Linked DNA regions of Homo sapiens: all the other regions are linked to region 1. The links are contacts of gene promoters, found by promoter capture Hi-C in blood cells and fetal thymus (Javierre and others, 2016). All regions are on one chromosome and are shown on one strand. The core of a region is centred on a gene start or on the middle of the fragment in contact, and the rest is flanking DNA. Distances in the headings are between cores, read along the strand shown. Region 1 holds the start of PRRX1 (paired related homeobox 1). Region 2 overlaps LINC01681 (long intergenic non-protein coding RNA 1681). Region 3 has its middle 62 kb from the start of LINC01142.

Evidence for each region. The method cuts DNA at HindIII sites, captures the fragments that hold promoters and counts their contacts. A CHiCAGO score of 5 or more calls a contact.
Region 2: a fragment that was not itself captured here is called in contact with the fragment with the promoter of PRRX1 in region 1 in 1 of 17 cell types (megakaryocytes); the score reaches 5.7 in megakaryocytes.
Region 3: a fragment that was not itself captured here is called in contact with the fragment with the promoter of PRRX1 in region 1 in 1 of 17 cell types (megakaryocytes); the score reaches 5.2 in megakaryocytes.

What each region holds. Positions count from the first base shown.
Region 1 is chr1:170,661,731-170,666,695 of GRCh38, reverse strand. It overlaps PRRX1 (paired related homeobox 1), which reads right to left and starts at 2,565. Exons shown (of 4, transcript NM_022716.4): 1 at 2,237-2,565. The coding sequence starts at 2,477. RefSeq lists enhancers at 1,072-1,932, 3,133-3,660. The HindIII fragment of the contact is 9,244 bases long and covers 1-4,965 here.
Region 2 is chr1:170,236,206-170,241,170 of GRCh38, reverse strand. It overlaps LINC01681 (long intergenic non-protein coding RNA 1681), which reads right to left. Exons shown (of 5, transcript NR_146891.1): 3 at 849-941; 4 at 1-106. Among named protein-coding and RNA genes, the nearest start is that of LINC01142, 46 kb to the left of the region's middle. The HindIII fragment of the contact is 1,013 bases long and covers 1,972-2,984 here.
Region 3 is chr1:170,343,672-170,348,636 of GRCh38, reverse strand. No RefSeq gene overlaps it. Among named protein-coding and RNA genes, the nearest start is that of LINC01142, 62 kb to the right of the region's middle. The HindIII fragment of the contact is 1,259 bases long and covers 2,426-3,684 here.

The DNA of each region.
Region 1 (4,965 bases), core at 1,316-3,815:
AGGCCGCTGGCCTTGGCCCTGGTTTTCTCATCCTCCAGCCTCCTCATAGGGCAAAGCAGCATCTAGTCTCTCCTGCCCCACTCTGGTCTTCTAAGCAGAAGTTTCTTCGTGGTCCTGTTTTCTGTTGTGGGTCCAGCCTCTAGTATCCGAACAGTGGTAAATGTTGCAATTAATAAGTCGTCCTGGCAAAACAGAAACGACTGGACGTGCAGAATTGGTGAAGCTGGGGTCTACACCAAATGCTGTTCTCCCTACTTTTTTTTTTTTTTTTTTTTTTTGAGACGGAGTCTCACTCTGTCATCCAGACTGGAGTGCAGTGGCACTATCTGGGCTCACTGCAACCTCTGCTTCCCGGGTTTAAGCGATTCTCCTGCCTCAGCCTGCTGAGTAACCGGGATTACAGGCGCTCGGCACTACGCCCGGCTAATTTTTGTATTTTTAGGAGAGAGGGGTTTCACCACGTTGGTTAGGCTGGTCTCGAACTCCTGACCTCGTGATCTGCCCGCCTCGGCCTCCCAAAGTGCTAGGATTACAGGCGTGAGCCACCGCGCCTGGACTCTCCCTACATTTTTCGTTTTTCATTTTCCCTGGTAAAACGTTTAAAAACAATCATAGTATTTCTCAGTGCATTTTGTTAGAACTAAGAGTGCCTATGCAAACACTTAAGTAATGCTGCGGGTGCAGCCTCTCAAGCACCCAAACCCTAAAGAGAACGTCTCTGTCTCTGCGCCTAGCCCTTTATGCGGAACTTGAGGACACCTGGTTCTTCATTCCTCAGAGTTGGCCACCTTTCTCTGGTGTCCAGGCCAGACTTCCTCATTCAGTTCCTGTAGCAGTCTGCTAATGCATTGGGTGGATCGGCCCTAGGCCGCTTTTGGCTAAAAACACCCAGGGGCGCCCAGGCCGGAACTAAGGAAGCAGGGTGAAGACCAGGCGTCTTGAGCACACCAGAGGCTCTCTCTGCGGCTTGCTGTAGCGTGGCCCGCGGGGCCACCACTGTGCCCGGACCCTGTTTCCAATTGTTTCTATGTGCAGTTTGATTTGTATGTCTATTCTTTGAGAGTCTGAAATAGGCAACGTTTTGTGAAAATCATAGAATGCTGGAGGGCCCCCCGGTTCCACGATTTCCAAATTTGAAGACAAAAATGGTAACCAGCAACTACTGACATAGAAAGCAACCAGCCTCATTTGAGAACTTACAGCTAAGTTCAGACTCTTGCAACCTCGAGGAGAAGAGGGAGTATCTGTACATATCTGGCCACATGTCACCTGGGATGAACAGGGTGACCGGTCTGTTACAGACTTGGGGGCATGGGGATACAATTGCAGTCTCTTTTTAAGGCACTAGCGAAGCGAGATTTTCATGGGTCGCGAGGTTGGTCGGTGAGGATGGGGAAGGGAAACTGGACTTTTCTGGGCGTTTAAGAGCCAATAGGGAGAGCTCCTCTAAGGTGACACTGGCCTCCGCACTGAAGCTCGCGCCTCCCGGATGCAGCTCGCCTGTGCGGGATCATGCGGGGCTGGATTTCAGGTTTCACCCTTAAAGGACATTCCCTTTGCTTGGCCCGAGTTTTCCCAAGCCAGCCGGGCTTTTGACTCTGCCAGTCTCAAACCCATTTGCGGTAGAGGCAACAGCAGGGGGCAGAGAGCAGCTCCAGCGTCTGGGGCCGGGCGTTCTCTCGGGGCCTCCCGGTCGCGCCCGGCCTTACGGTGCCCGCGTGGAGAGTGCAGCCTGAGCAGCGCCAAGTCCTGCTCCCTGTGCCTGGTGCCCTCCCTCAAGCCGTCATACGCTGCCCGAGAGAAGCCCTTCCAACCCGACTCAGCATCTTTAACCTGCTGCTTTCCCAAACAGCGCTGGCTCTCTGAGTTTGCACCCCGCTAAGACCTTTTCCCAGCCCAGCCCCGCCGCCCCGCGTGCGGGATGAACCGAGCCGGTGCCTAGCCGAAGTAAAGAGAGTCCGCCGCGGACAGAGTCCCTGCCTGAGACCGCAGGGCCTCGGAGTGTCCCCGGACCTTGGAGCCTCTCTCCAGCGTCCTCCTTGGCTATGCCCTCGGCCGAGACCCGCTTTTCTCATCTGGTTTCCCCTGTGACTGGCCCTTCCTTTGAAGTCTGCCATCACCTCTCCTGGTCCCAGGACCTTGTCTTTCTGGCCGCGGACGGGCTCTAGCTGCCCTACACGGGTCCCCGCCCTCTGTCCCGGGCACACACCCCCGTGGGCATGCGCCCCTCACTCACTGTCCTGCTGCGGGGTGTCGCTGCCGCTGGTGAGTCCCGGCGACTCCAGCAGGCTCCGGCCAGCCTCGCCCACGTTCTCATCCGCCTGTGCCGCCACCATGTCCCCGGCTTCCTCCAGGTCTAGCAGGTGACTGACGGAGAAGTTCTTTTTCGCCTGCAGGGTGTCGAGGTTGCCCGGGCTGTCCAAGCGGCCGCCCAGCGCCGGTTGCCGCTCCAGAACGTGCCCGTAGCTGGAGGTCATGGTCTCCCCCACCGATCCCACCCACCCCCCTCTTCCCGCTCGAATCAACACCAAACGCTGTGGGCGCGAGGGGGGAGAGGAGCCGAGTGGGGAAGAAAGAGGGGGGTAGTGGAGAGAGAGAGAGAGAGAGGGAGGAAGAGGGAGGGAAGGAGAGGAAGGCCAAAAAAAAAAAATTGGAAAAGAGGGTGGGGGACCCCCTTCTGTAGAGCAGAGCGTTGTGCACCAGCCGCCTTCCGCAGCATTGGTTGATTTCCTGAGGCCAAGTCCGGCGCGGTCCAAAGAGATAATCCACAGTAAAATACAATATTAAAAAGTCACCCTATGTTCAAGTCAGGAGAAAAAAATCCCTTCCAACTCTCCAAAAGTGTCCACACGCACAGACTAAAAATAATAACAAGGGGGAGAGAGGAAAGCGGAGGCCAGCAGGGCGGGGGAGTTAGGCAAACAGAAGAAGAGAGAAGAAGGGGTGGGAGAGAAGAATCAAAGTGAATGGTTTTTTTAAAGGTTAAAAAAGTTATTCCCAGGCAAGAGTTCAAGCACCAACAGAAGAAGGCTTGTTCCAGCTTTAAAACATCTTCAAGAAAACGTGTTCCCCCCTCTCTGCACTCCTGTGGATTCTCAGGAGTGACTAAAGTTTCAGGAGGAGAGGGTGATGTCTTGCAGATGTATTAGAGAGCAGGATTCTCACTTTACTTTTTGTAAAGAGTAAAAAAAAAAATTAAGAATTAAAAAAAAAAGGCTTCAAGAGTCCGACGGAGGGTGCTGGTGGGTTCCCCCCTTTCCCCTTCTCTCTCTCCCCCTCTTCTTGCTGGGCTCCTTTTTCCTTCTCAGTTGGATCAAGAAGCTCTCTGGCACTTCAAAAGGCACAAACTGGCATGCAGAGGAGGCTTTGTAGGGAATACAAGAAAATTGGAGACCCCTGGGAGGGCAGATCTCGACTTAATAGGAGCCTGTAATTACGTGGCAAAGCCTTTGTGCTGTGCCTGACGTTTCACAGACCCCCTTTCTCCATCACAATCTCCTTCTTCCTCCTTTCCCTGGGACCAAAAAACAGTCTGATTAAGAAAACCCCCTTTGCCAACATCAGAGTTAGAGAGAAAGGGAGAGGGAGGGAACAAGAGAGAGGGAGGGAGAGAGGGAGGGAGGGAGGGAGGAAGGGAGAGAGAGAGAGAGAGAAAGAGAGAAGAGAAATGAGAGAGGGAAGAGAGCAAGAGAGCCCCTTTGGATTTCTAAAGGTCTAATTATCATTCCCCTGCAATAATATCACGGGGAGAAAAGACAAACTGAAACTCACAGTCACTTCAAACGTGCTGATTATTTTGCTTCGGCATTAACTCCTCCAGATTTGTTTAAGATCCTGTTGGAAAATCTCATTTGCATGTTTTGATAACAGCTGTGGGGAAATTTGGAAAAAATCCACCACCATCACAATCAAATTTTCTTCTCCTTCTGCCTTCCCCCAAACCGCCCCCCCCCAAAAAAAAATTTTCTGCTGTTCTAACAGTTTGGGGCGGAGTACAGGGAGAAAGTAAGCATATTAAGGCTATTTTTGGTTCCGTAGAGGGAGCCTATTAAATAATGTAATAAAAATAACAAAAGGGATGATAATAGGAAGTTCTCTCACGCCTCTCGCAAGGACTAAAGGCAGGTTGGGGAGATCCAGAGGGCACCGAGTTTATTTGAGGCTTTCCCCGCCATTAGGCATACCAGGACTAGGGCAATGAGAAAAGTACGTGTTTATTAAACTGGAAGAAAGGACTCCAAATATATATTATAATCTTTCTCCCTACCCCCGCCAATTTTGTAACTTCTACGGTAAGGCCAAAGTTGCTTCCCCAGGCGAGGACGCTAAACCCAGAGGGTCCCGCTGCCCAGATTCCTTGAAGCAGGCAGGAGCACTCCCAGAGGCAGGAGTTGGGGAGGCTTCCGTGCGGTTCTGCGTCCAGCCTGGCTGTGGTGGCAGGAGGACAGAGAGGGGCGGAGGAACCCCCATCTAAGTCTACGGATAATCCTCTGTCGTCCGTCTGCGGAGCCCTAACCTGACAGAAGACAGAGAGGTGCTGAGCAGTTTTTTCATGACCTGTTGGAATTTGGTAACAGCTTTAACAGTCTCATTAGAAATGAGTTACTGTATGACGACTCAGTAAAATATTAAGTGCTTATTTGTGGCGTTTTATGTTCTTTAAACGCGCACTCACACACACACACACGCATCCGTACTCCCGCACTCCCTTGATTGCTAGACTTTTTTTTTTTTTCGTCCTATAGTCAAGAGGCTCGACTGGAGAGAAAGAAGGGTACGAGTGTGTGTAAATGGTTTCTGGGCTCCAAACGGCCATAGTTAGCCCAGAACTTCCAGCCCTGATCTGGGAAAAGAACATTTGATGCCATCAAAGGGCTGTAGATTGAAACCAGATGTGCTCGCCTCGGTTCTTTCCATGCATTTAATTAAGGAACTGGGATGGAGGAGACTTTTTCATCATTAGTC
Region 2 (4,965 bases), core at 1,229-3,728, 430 kb after region 1:
AAATTCAGTCAGATATTTGTCTTTTATTTGAATGGACTATATCTACAAGACAGTGCTGAAGCAGTCAGTTCATTCAAACAGCCTTTGAATTCAGAGTGCCTCTTTCCTTTCAGAAAAGAAAAAATAAAGTCAGTCTCATATCTTTTTATAGATACAGCTTGTCAGAGGTTTAGCTTTGCATAATTGGCCATAATTAATTATAAGCTTCTCTAAGTTTTCTCTAAGTTCATGAAACTAGTCAGGTTAATAGAAGATTCTCCAAGAAACTGTGTTCTGGGGTTAATCAGTGTTGTTCCTAACTAGAATTCTGAGTGGAATAATCCAGGAGAAACACGTCACTTTTGGAAGCTGCCCCTGTAAATTTACTACGTCTGAATGTTCACTCCTTCTGGAAAAAGCATCTTAATTTAACTGCAGTGGGAGTTGATAATAGTGCTGGTGCTCCTTGGAGTCAAATTTAGATGAGGACTATTACCTGGCCCTGTCCTATTCTGCTATTTTGTTATCCAAACCCTTCAACTATGACTAGTTAGTCATCCTCAGAATGCACTTTGCATATCATGGTTAAGCTTCTAAAATTGTGACGGAAAGGAGAGTTGTAGTACCAGAATGAATTTCTGCATAAATAATTTTCATTTTCATTTTTATCAATTGGGGTAAACATGACTTTAGCCACAAGGCATGAGAGAAAACCAGGATCTGGTTAACTGTTATCTGGGTAACTGAACAATGGGAAGACTGAAACTGGATGACTGAAGCCAAAAGCACTTCAGGCAGGGATTCTTGGGCTCATGGATCTTTACAGGCTTAAAAATGCTGCTTTAAGGATATTTAAGAAGAAGGCTTACATTTAGGAAACTTCAAAGGGTTGAAATTTGATCACTCCATAGGTGATCAACGCAGAGTGAATGTCTTCAGTTGCAATATTCAATTGAAACACTCTTGTACAATTGAAGAAAAAGGAAGAAATCAGAAGATAGTTAATGCCTTTTAAATCCAGATAAGTTTAACTACAATAAAAACACATACCAACGCCTTGCCTTCTTGGCCTAGTAAGTTCCAGGTATAGTTGTGAAGACTGTTCTTCAGTGCAGTAGCAATGAACTGGAAAGCCTTTGTGTAACTGAAGGGTTTCCGTGGGTTCCAGATTCTGAGTTTGTCCCAGAAGCCAAAACAATGATTTATAAAATGTTGCAGATTTCTAAATAAATGTTAAGCATCTCCTGGTTATTAAAGATTGCTAACCAGTATTTAATTTATCTGTGTTTCCTCCTGTTAACCAAGCAAGTATACAAAAAGAGTTGCTATTAATTATCATGCCATATTTTCAAAAACAACACACTATATTAACTTTTGCTTATCACAGACTGCCCTAATCTAAGTCTGATTGTATGGCTTTTAGATCGTCTTTTGGTTTGATAAATACATCAGAATCCCCAATAACTGTTGAGATTTCATTTCCACCCCACCTAACTATTGCTCATCTCATTCTTACTCATGCAATTCCTCCTCCCTCCCCACCCATACACAGCAATGCTGCTTTTGCAATTTGTCAACCTGAAGGCAATAACAGTTGTCAAACTGACCGTGCAACTTTTTGGCAACCCACACAAATCACTGTGTATCTCTGTACTTCTCTCTCCTTTTATCAATGATTTGGGAGTAATCATCCTGGTTGCCTGCTTTGTTCTCGTGAGTTTGGAGGGCACTGACATTCATGGAACATTGTGAACTAAGAAGAAAGTTGCTTATAAGTGTCTCGAACTACCATTTTCACATGTCTTAACTGCCATAACAGGGAGGAAAGTCTTCACAATTTGAAAGGCTGCCTGAAACTTAGTCCCACTGCACCAAACCTTTGATCTTTTGGTCACACCGTCAGTCTCTTGAAAACTCAGTTCTCTTGTAAAATTTTCAGTCTGCTCCCAAAACAATTGTTGCATAAGTTCTGAAAGCCAGGCCCACAAAGCTTCGCTTTGTTCTGGAAAGTTCCCTAAATAGAGTTAGGTAACAACGGCATTAGCACTAAGACTGAGGAGTCATGGCATCCAATCACACACAGCTCTCTGTTTTTCTTTCTCTCAACGTCTCTTTTTCTTTTCCTCTTCTCTTCCCCTTCTTTTTCAATTTCTTCCTCCTCCTCTCTTCTCCTTTGTTTCCTTCTCCCACAAAAAGTGTTTGCTTTTCCCCGCAAACGCTTCTGAGCCTTGGACCAGGCTCTGATTTCACCAGCTTTGCTTAAGCAAGACTTGCTGCTTCACCTAAGGACAAAGGTGTTTCCAGGTTTAACTAAAAACTGGATGGGACATTACATAACAGAGTGAAGTGAGGCTCCCATTGCCAAAGTGCTACAAAAACACTTTTTCTCACAATGTTTCAGAACTTTTGCAACAGGGTATCTACGAGAATTAAAACATGGGTTAAAAATATGTAAGATCTCATGCCAAATAATTGAAAACAAACAGTTGATTTACAGTAAGATCTTGCTAGTTTTCACTCTTCTGAAATGAACCTGATTCTTTTGTTTTAATAGCAGGGTTTATTTGCTATATACATTGAAATACTTTAAATTATTGAGCATTTTTGAATATTAAGAACTTTTGAAATAAATCATGAACTGATGTTAGGAACAATTTTAAGTGTGTCACATTTGTCGGTATGAATTAACCTAATGCATTTTATTTGAGGGGCTTCTCTACATTTTCTTCTCTTGCTTGTGAGAGTCTGTGACATTTCACAATGAAGATAGCCTCTTGTGTAAGCATAAATTAGGAGAAGCCACCAAGGCTGAGATTAATAGCTTAAGTTATTTTCACTAAATTTAAGTAGATTGATTAAATCATTCCACAATGTAATCATGTATCAAAACATCACAATGTACTCCCTAAATAGATGCAATTATTATTTGCCAGTTAAAAAGTTTTAAAAAGAGGTTTACTTCGTGAAGAGCAAAAAATATTTGGCAACAGTAATCAAATGAAGCTTATATATCATAGTCAAAATATAATTGTATCAGAATTCCTGATGATTAAAGCACATCTAGAAAGAGCCCGGCCCACTGTGCTCCTGCCCACGACCAAGGCCTCAAAGAGGTCTCTCTAATCATTCCCACTCTCATTTCTGGCTGTACTCCTATTTCTTACTATGCTGGGGTAACATGTTTGTAGACTATTTTAAGAACTATATTGAGCAGCTTCTTCAAACAGGTATACTTACTCTTGGGAGTACATAAAACCTTTCAGAAGACATGCAAACACAAACTGTTCTAAGGAAATCAATTTCCAGATACTTAGCTTCCACATCCACTCTTTCCTAAAAGTAGTCTGCCTAAGGTGCCTTCCATGAACTCTTCATAACCCTTTCCTTCCCATTCGCTTTGTTATCCTTGCTGGAGCGATGCATTGTCTTGCGATGTAATAATCTCTGGGATGTCAAACAAAGGAATAATTTGAAATATTTGTGTCACCTCATTTAATCAAAGCACCATAAAACCTGACCACCGATCATGCTAAGAAAAGCATCTCCAATACAATATTATTTTTGATATTTAAAAATTATAATTTGTGTGTATTTTTGATCACTTCCATATGAAAAATAACTGTTATGATAATACAGAAGAAAATTATAGGTCTTCAAACTCTAGGACCATAGAAAATTTTTATTGCAACTAGTAGGCAGAGCTAAAAATGTAGCAAAAGGAATCTAAATTTAGACATAAAGTTCTGACTATGGAGGTAGTGAAAAAAACACAGAATGGAAATTTTAAAATTTTTGTTGTATAGGCATATAAAAGGGTAACCAATAACAGATATTCACTTTTAAAATTATATTGCATTGGTGTAAAAGTCTAAGAGGAAGTGGAATGGAAATAAAATATCAAAGAGAAAAAAGAATTACAAAAATGTCTAATTTTTTTATTATTATACTTTAAGTTTTAGGGTACATGTGCACATTGTGCAGGTTAGTTACCTGTGTATACATGTGATATGCTGGTGCGCTGCACCCACTAACTCCTCATCTAGCATTAGGTATATCTCCCAATGCTATCCCTCCCCCCTTCCCCCACCCCACAACAGTCCCCAGAGTGTGATGTTCCCCTTCCTGTGTCCATGTGTTCTCATTGTTCAATTCCCGCCTATGAGTGAGAATATGCGGTGTTTGGTTTTTTGTTCTTGCGATAGTTTACTGAGAATGATGATTTCCAGTTTCATCCATGTCCCTACAAAGGACATGAACTCATCATTTTTTATGGCTGCATAGTATTCCATGGTGTATATGTGCCACATTTTCTTATCCAGTCTATCATTGTTGGACATTTGGGTTGGTTCCAAGTCTTTGCTATTGTGAATAATGCCGCAATAAACATACGTGTGCATGTGTCTTTATAGCAGCATGATTTATAGTCCTTTGGGTATATACCCAGTAATGGGATGGCTGGGTCAAATGGTATTTCTAGTTCTAGATCCCTGAGGAATCGCCACACTGACTTCCACAATGGTTGAACTAATTTAGAGTCCCACCAACAGTGTCAAAGTGTTCCTATTTCTCCACATCCTCTCCAGCACCTGTTGTTTCCTGACTTTTTAATGATCGCCATTCTAACTGGTGTGAGATGATATCTCATTGTGGTTTTGATTTGCATTTCTCTGATGGCCAGTGATGGTGAGCATTTTTTCATGTGTTTTTTGGCTGCATAAATGTCTTCTTTTCAGAAGTGTCTGTTCATGTCCTTTGCCCACTTTTTGATGGGGTTGTTTGTTTTTTTCTTGTAAATTTGTTTGAGTTCATTGTAGATTCTGGATATTAGCCCTTTTTCAGATGAGTAGGTTGCGAAAATTTTCTCCCATTTTGTGGGTTGCCTGTTCACTCTGATGGTAGTTTCTTTTGCTGTGCAGAAGCTCTTTAGTTTAATTAGATCCCATTTGTCAATTTTGGCTTTTGTTGCCATTGCTTTTGGTGTTTTAG
Region 3 (4,965 bases), core at 1,806-4,305, 320 kb after region 1:
AAAATTTTGTATTTGAATATGAAGTTATCCTAACTCCTCCATTTCACAAATTTATTGAACACTTTCCCAGGTGTTGTGAAGTTTACAAAAATAAAAGACAGGTCTCTTCTCTTAACAATCTAGCAAATTTCAAATCTTTTTATGAAGTTCATCTAATTGGATTTTTTATTCAATATCATTCCTCTGTGGTGAGAGAATAGGCAATGTTGTACACTCCTTTTGGAGACCTGAACAAACTGAAGCTCAGAAAGGCAAAGTGATTCACATAGTATTATATCCAGTTAGAGGAAATGCTGGAAATACACCCAAAGATTCAATGCCAGTAATCTTTGCTAATTCTGGAGTCCAGAGATTCCTTCAGAAAGGAACGTAGAATGAATTTGGTCTCTCAGGCATTAGGTGGGAACAATTTGAGTTTTGGGAGTCCTTTCTTAAAATTACACAATAAAGGGGTTTACCCAGTCTCATATCTTGTAGGCATAGCACTGCCTGGATCATTATCTGAGAGGGTGTAATCAATGAGAGTCTTAATCATCATAGTAGGGAAGGAGCACGTGCTCAATTTAAATATCAGCCCTCAATAGCCCACATGTGACATTAACCTCTACATGCCTCCATCTCCTGAGAAGTTCTGATGACCTACCTTGTAGGATTGGAAGGAGTGAGTGAGATAGCTCATATAAAATGGACAGTCTTATGCCAGGTACCCTGACCTAGGGGAGAGTCTTCGAACACGTCTTCCCACCACTGCCACCCAAAACACATGCACACACACACACACACACACACACACACACACATACACACACACACACTTTGAATTATTATTGAATGCATCTGTTCATGCATACAATAAACAAACATTTATTGAGCACCTACTATATGAAGGTCTCTTTGCTGGGCAGTAGGAATACAAATATAAATAACATCTAATCCCTGCCTCAAGGAGTTAGTCTTCTATTGCACTTAACAGGAGAAAGGACTTTATTTAAAGTCCTCCATTTGGAGGGAATAAAAGAAAGCTGTGAGAGCAGGAATGGGGAATTGTCAAGAGGTGCAGAGAAAATAAGGCCAACTTACTCTCCGGGTTTCAGTCCTTCAGGATGAGTGGTGGGTTTGTGGCAGGGAATGGGATTTTGCCTTACTCTTCTTGGATGTAGCTCAGGGAGCTGCACCTAAAGAGAACTTTTATTTCCTGTGTTCTTTGTTCCCTGACATTTCCAATTTCCATCACAGGAACTTTGCCAGTTGTGTGCTTTGCCTTTATTTTAAAATTAACTTCCCAAGAAGGTTGTAAGATTCAGTAGACATCTGGTGTGAATGCTGAGGGCTGTCCTTGCCAGCTGGGTGCTCCTGCTGTGATGGAATCGAGTGGTCCTGCTCTCTTTGCTTTGAGATAGTGACCTGTCTATCCAGGTCCTCTTCTCCTCTAAATACATGAGCATTCATATTTTATTTGCCATTTTGACTTCATAAACCAGGCTTATGGTAGAAGAAAAAGACTGCGACTCATTAGGCATATTCTCTGTCTTTCCTCCAGAGGGTTCAGGCAGGAAGTGCTAATAGGCCTCAAAAGGACTGGGGAGAAGAGACACCGAGACAGAAAATCAACAGCTACCAGCTATTGCTCATTTCTAAAGAAGAGGCATTTTTACTTAAGCAATAGGAAAAAAAAATGCTCCAAAGTAAATGTGAACATATATACTTGAGCAACCAACAGCATTTTCTCAGACTACGTGTCTCCTGAGGAAAAGTTGAAGTTTTTGCTTCTGGCCAGTCTGGAACCTGTCCCTGTGCCCACCTTCCCTTGCCAAAGCTTTGATCCTAAAGAAACACTTCAGTATTTCAAATTCAAACCCACAATAGTAGACCTTGTGGTAGATGTGTTTCACATTTGTGATATGCCTAATTCACAGCAACTCTCTCAAACCACATCCATTTGAGGTACACACCATATGTTCATTCCTATTTTCCCAACCCACAAACTTAGCCCCCACCATCACAAAATGTTTATTTTTCATTAAACTTCCTACCTATTTACTCATCATGCTTCAAGAGCTCCTAAAATTTCAGGTCTCCTCCATAGCATTTCTCACTTTAACTGGAACTGAGATGGAATTTTTTCCAGCTTTGGACTTCCAAGATAAAACTCATACCTTCAGCCACACCAAAAATGACAAAAACTACAATAATTTGGGTGGAAATACTACCTTCTCTAGCACCCAAAGCATTTTTTAAAATCATTATATTTTGTTGGTGTATTCTAAGAGATAAAAAATATTGTGTTCTCATTTGGCAAAGAGCAAGACTGAAGTAGGCATTCAGTGGCATAGCTAAGATTGCTCAGCACCATCTGGCAGGCAGGGCAAGGGGAGAACCTGCTGACTCTCAAAAATAATGATCTATGTGTTGCAGGCCCAAAGCTTTCCTGGGCTCTACAATATCTTAGTAGTTACTATACTTTATGACCATGGATTTTTCTTAGTTCTTATTTTCAGATGGATGTTAAAATTATCTTAAAATGTTCTCTCCTTCCCCAAACATATACCTATTTATCTCCCTCCAAACACATATATATTTCCCCCACCACACTGAAATTCTGAACATGGGGGTTAGAGAAGAGGGAGATTTCCTGCTTTCTCCTCCTCTGCCCTCATATTTATCTTCTGGGATGAAGGAAACTGATATTTATCAATAGTCTAATGCAAGATGTATGTAATTTTATTTAATATTTCTAACAACCTTACTTTGGCATTATTTCACCTCAGAAGGATTAAATGCCTCATCTATTCTCACAGCTTACAAGATGCAAGGATGGAAGAGTACAGGGCTCAGAGCCTTGCAAGATGCATGGCTGATCTAGGAGCACCCAAGGTCTCACCAGTTCCAAAACCTGTATATTGTTTCTGTTGTTTTTCTTTCAAGTTTATTCATTTTAAGCAGATTTTGAGCATTCTAATCTCCTTTGGATAGGTGCTCAAAAATAAGATCAGTGAGTATCTTTTTTTTTCTTTTTGAGACAGAGTCTCGCTCTGTCACCCCGGCTGGAGTGCAGTGGTGCAATCTTGACTTGATCAGTTAGTATCTTAATGCTTGGACACGGAAGTTTTAAAATTTTGTTCTCTTTTTCTTTTTTTGATTTTCCTAAACATTAAATTGGCTGAGTTAACATTCTTATTCCAGAGGCTGGAAGTAAGATGAAAGCCAAGAGTCTGACTTATTTCTTCATCAATTCATTCAAATCCTACAAAACTATCCATTGACTTGGCCTTTCTCTAACAAAGACCTTAATTTAGCGTGGTTTGATTTCATTACTAGTGATTGGGAGAGTTTATTGCATAGAAACAAACCTTATGATCCCTTGGGAGAATATGAAAGTCATCACTGGCTGAGATGACCCATGAATAAAATGGGTGAAAAACATTCTAGAAAGGAAGAATCTGTAAGAGAAGTTGTGTTTAGAGGAAAAAAAGATTGTTAGTGGTAATGATATATCTTGAGCTAGATATGTCATTTGATCTCCTTAGACAGCTTCTGCAGGATGGAACTTAAAATACATTTTTTTCTCAGTCTAACACAAATAATCAATACAGGAAAAAAAAAAGGTTTAGGCTGAAAAACAAAATAAACACGTGTAATTCAACCCACCCAGATAAAATGGCATAAACAGTTGATATACAAGCTTCCAGCTTTTGAATCTGAATATATAATTTAACAGAAATAGAATCATAGCATAATACATCTTTGAAGCTCATTTTAAATTTAATATTAAGAATACAAATTAATATCAATAAGGAAAGATCTATAGCATAATAATTACACAGCTCATAGTATGATATCATGTGCTGCATCACAATTTACTTAATCTGTTCTTTAGGATTAGACAATGAGACTTGTTTATAATTTTTCAGTTGCAAATAGTGATACCATGAATGCCAGCAAAACTGTTGGTGTAAGGGAAACAATGAGAGATAGCAACAGGTCTGGAATTGAAACTATTTATTACATTAAAGGTATAAACATTTTAAAGCCTTTTGATAGACGATCCCAAACTATTTTTCTGAAAATTGCGCCAACATACATAGCAGTGTATGACTGCATCCACTTCCCTAAACCTGCAGGCTGGTAGAAATAAATGTTATTTCATTGCATTTCGTTGCAATAATGTTGAATAATTTTTACTGTGTACATTGCCTGCTTGTATTTCTTCTTTTATAAATAGCTTATTATGTTTTTTGCCCACCAATTTTTACCTGAGTATTAGTCTTTCACTTATTGATTTATAAAAATTCTCATTTTATAGTAATGCTTTATAATAAATGTTGCAAATATTTTTTCCAATTTGTCTTTTTTTCCCTTTTAATTTTACTTATAGTGTTTTATGCAACAAACTGGTTTTACATTGTGTGTAGTCAAATCCATCAGCATTTGCTTATTTGTATTTTCCCTTTGGTTTTTGGCTTAGACAATTCCAGGAACTTTAAAGCAACTTTGAAAAAGTCAAACTTATAATACATAAGCTCTCTACAAACTTATTCAAAATTTTCATGTGTTTGTACTCATGATACTTGTTACCAAGCTATACCTTCTATGGAAGACCATTTTCCCATAATTTTAGTCAGGGTGCTGTGCCATTAAATATGAATAATAGCAATCTTTTTAATTTTTCAGAAAAATAAATTTAATAAAATATCTTTCAAATCTAAGGTTTCCCACCACATTTTTTTCTTAAATATTTGGTGCTGTTACCCATTGCCTTTATTAATATCTAATAAAACCTGGTGTCATATTATATATTCTGTTATTTTAAATTTAATATGTCAATATTAAATGGTGTTGTGCAAAGGTTGCTATTACTTCCAGATGTTCTGCTAACTGACAAGTTCAAGGATCTCTAGTATGTGGTACATGTTTGCTACAGTTAAAAACTAAAAGGGAGGTAATGTTCACAACACAAAAAAATGA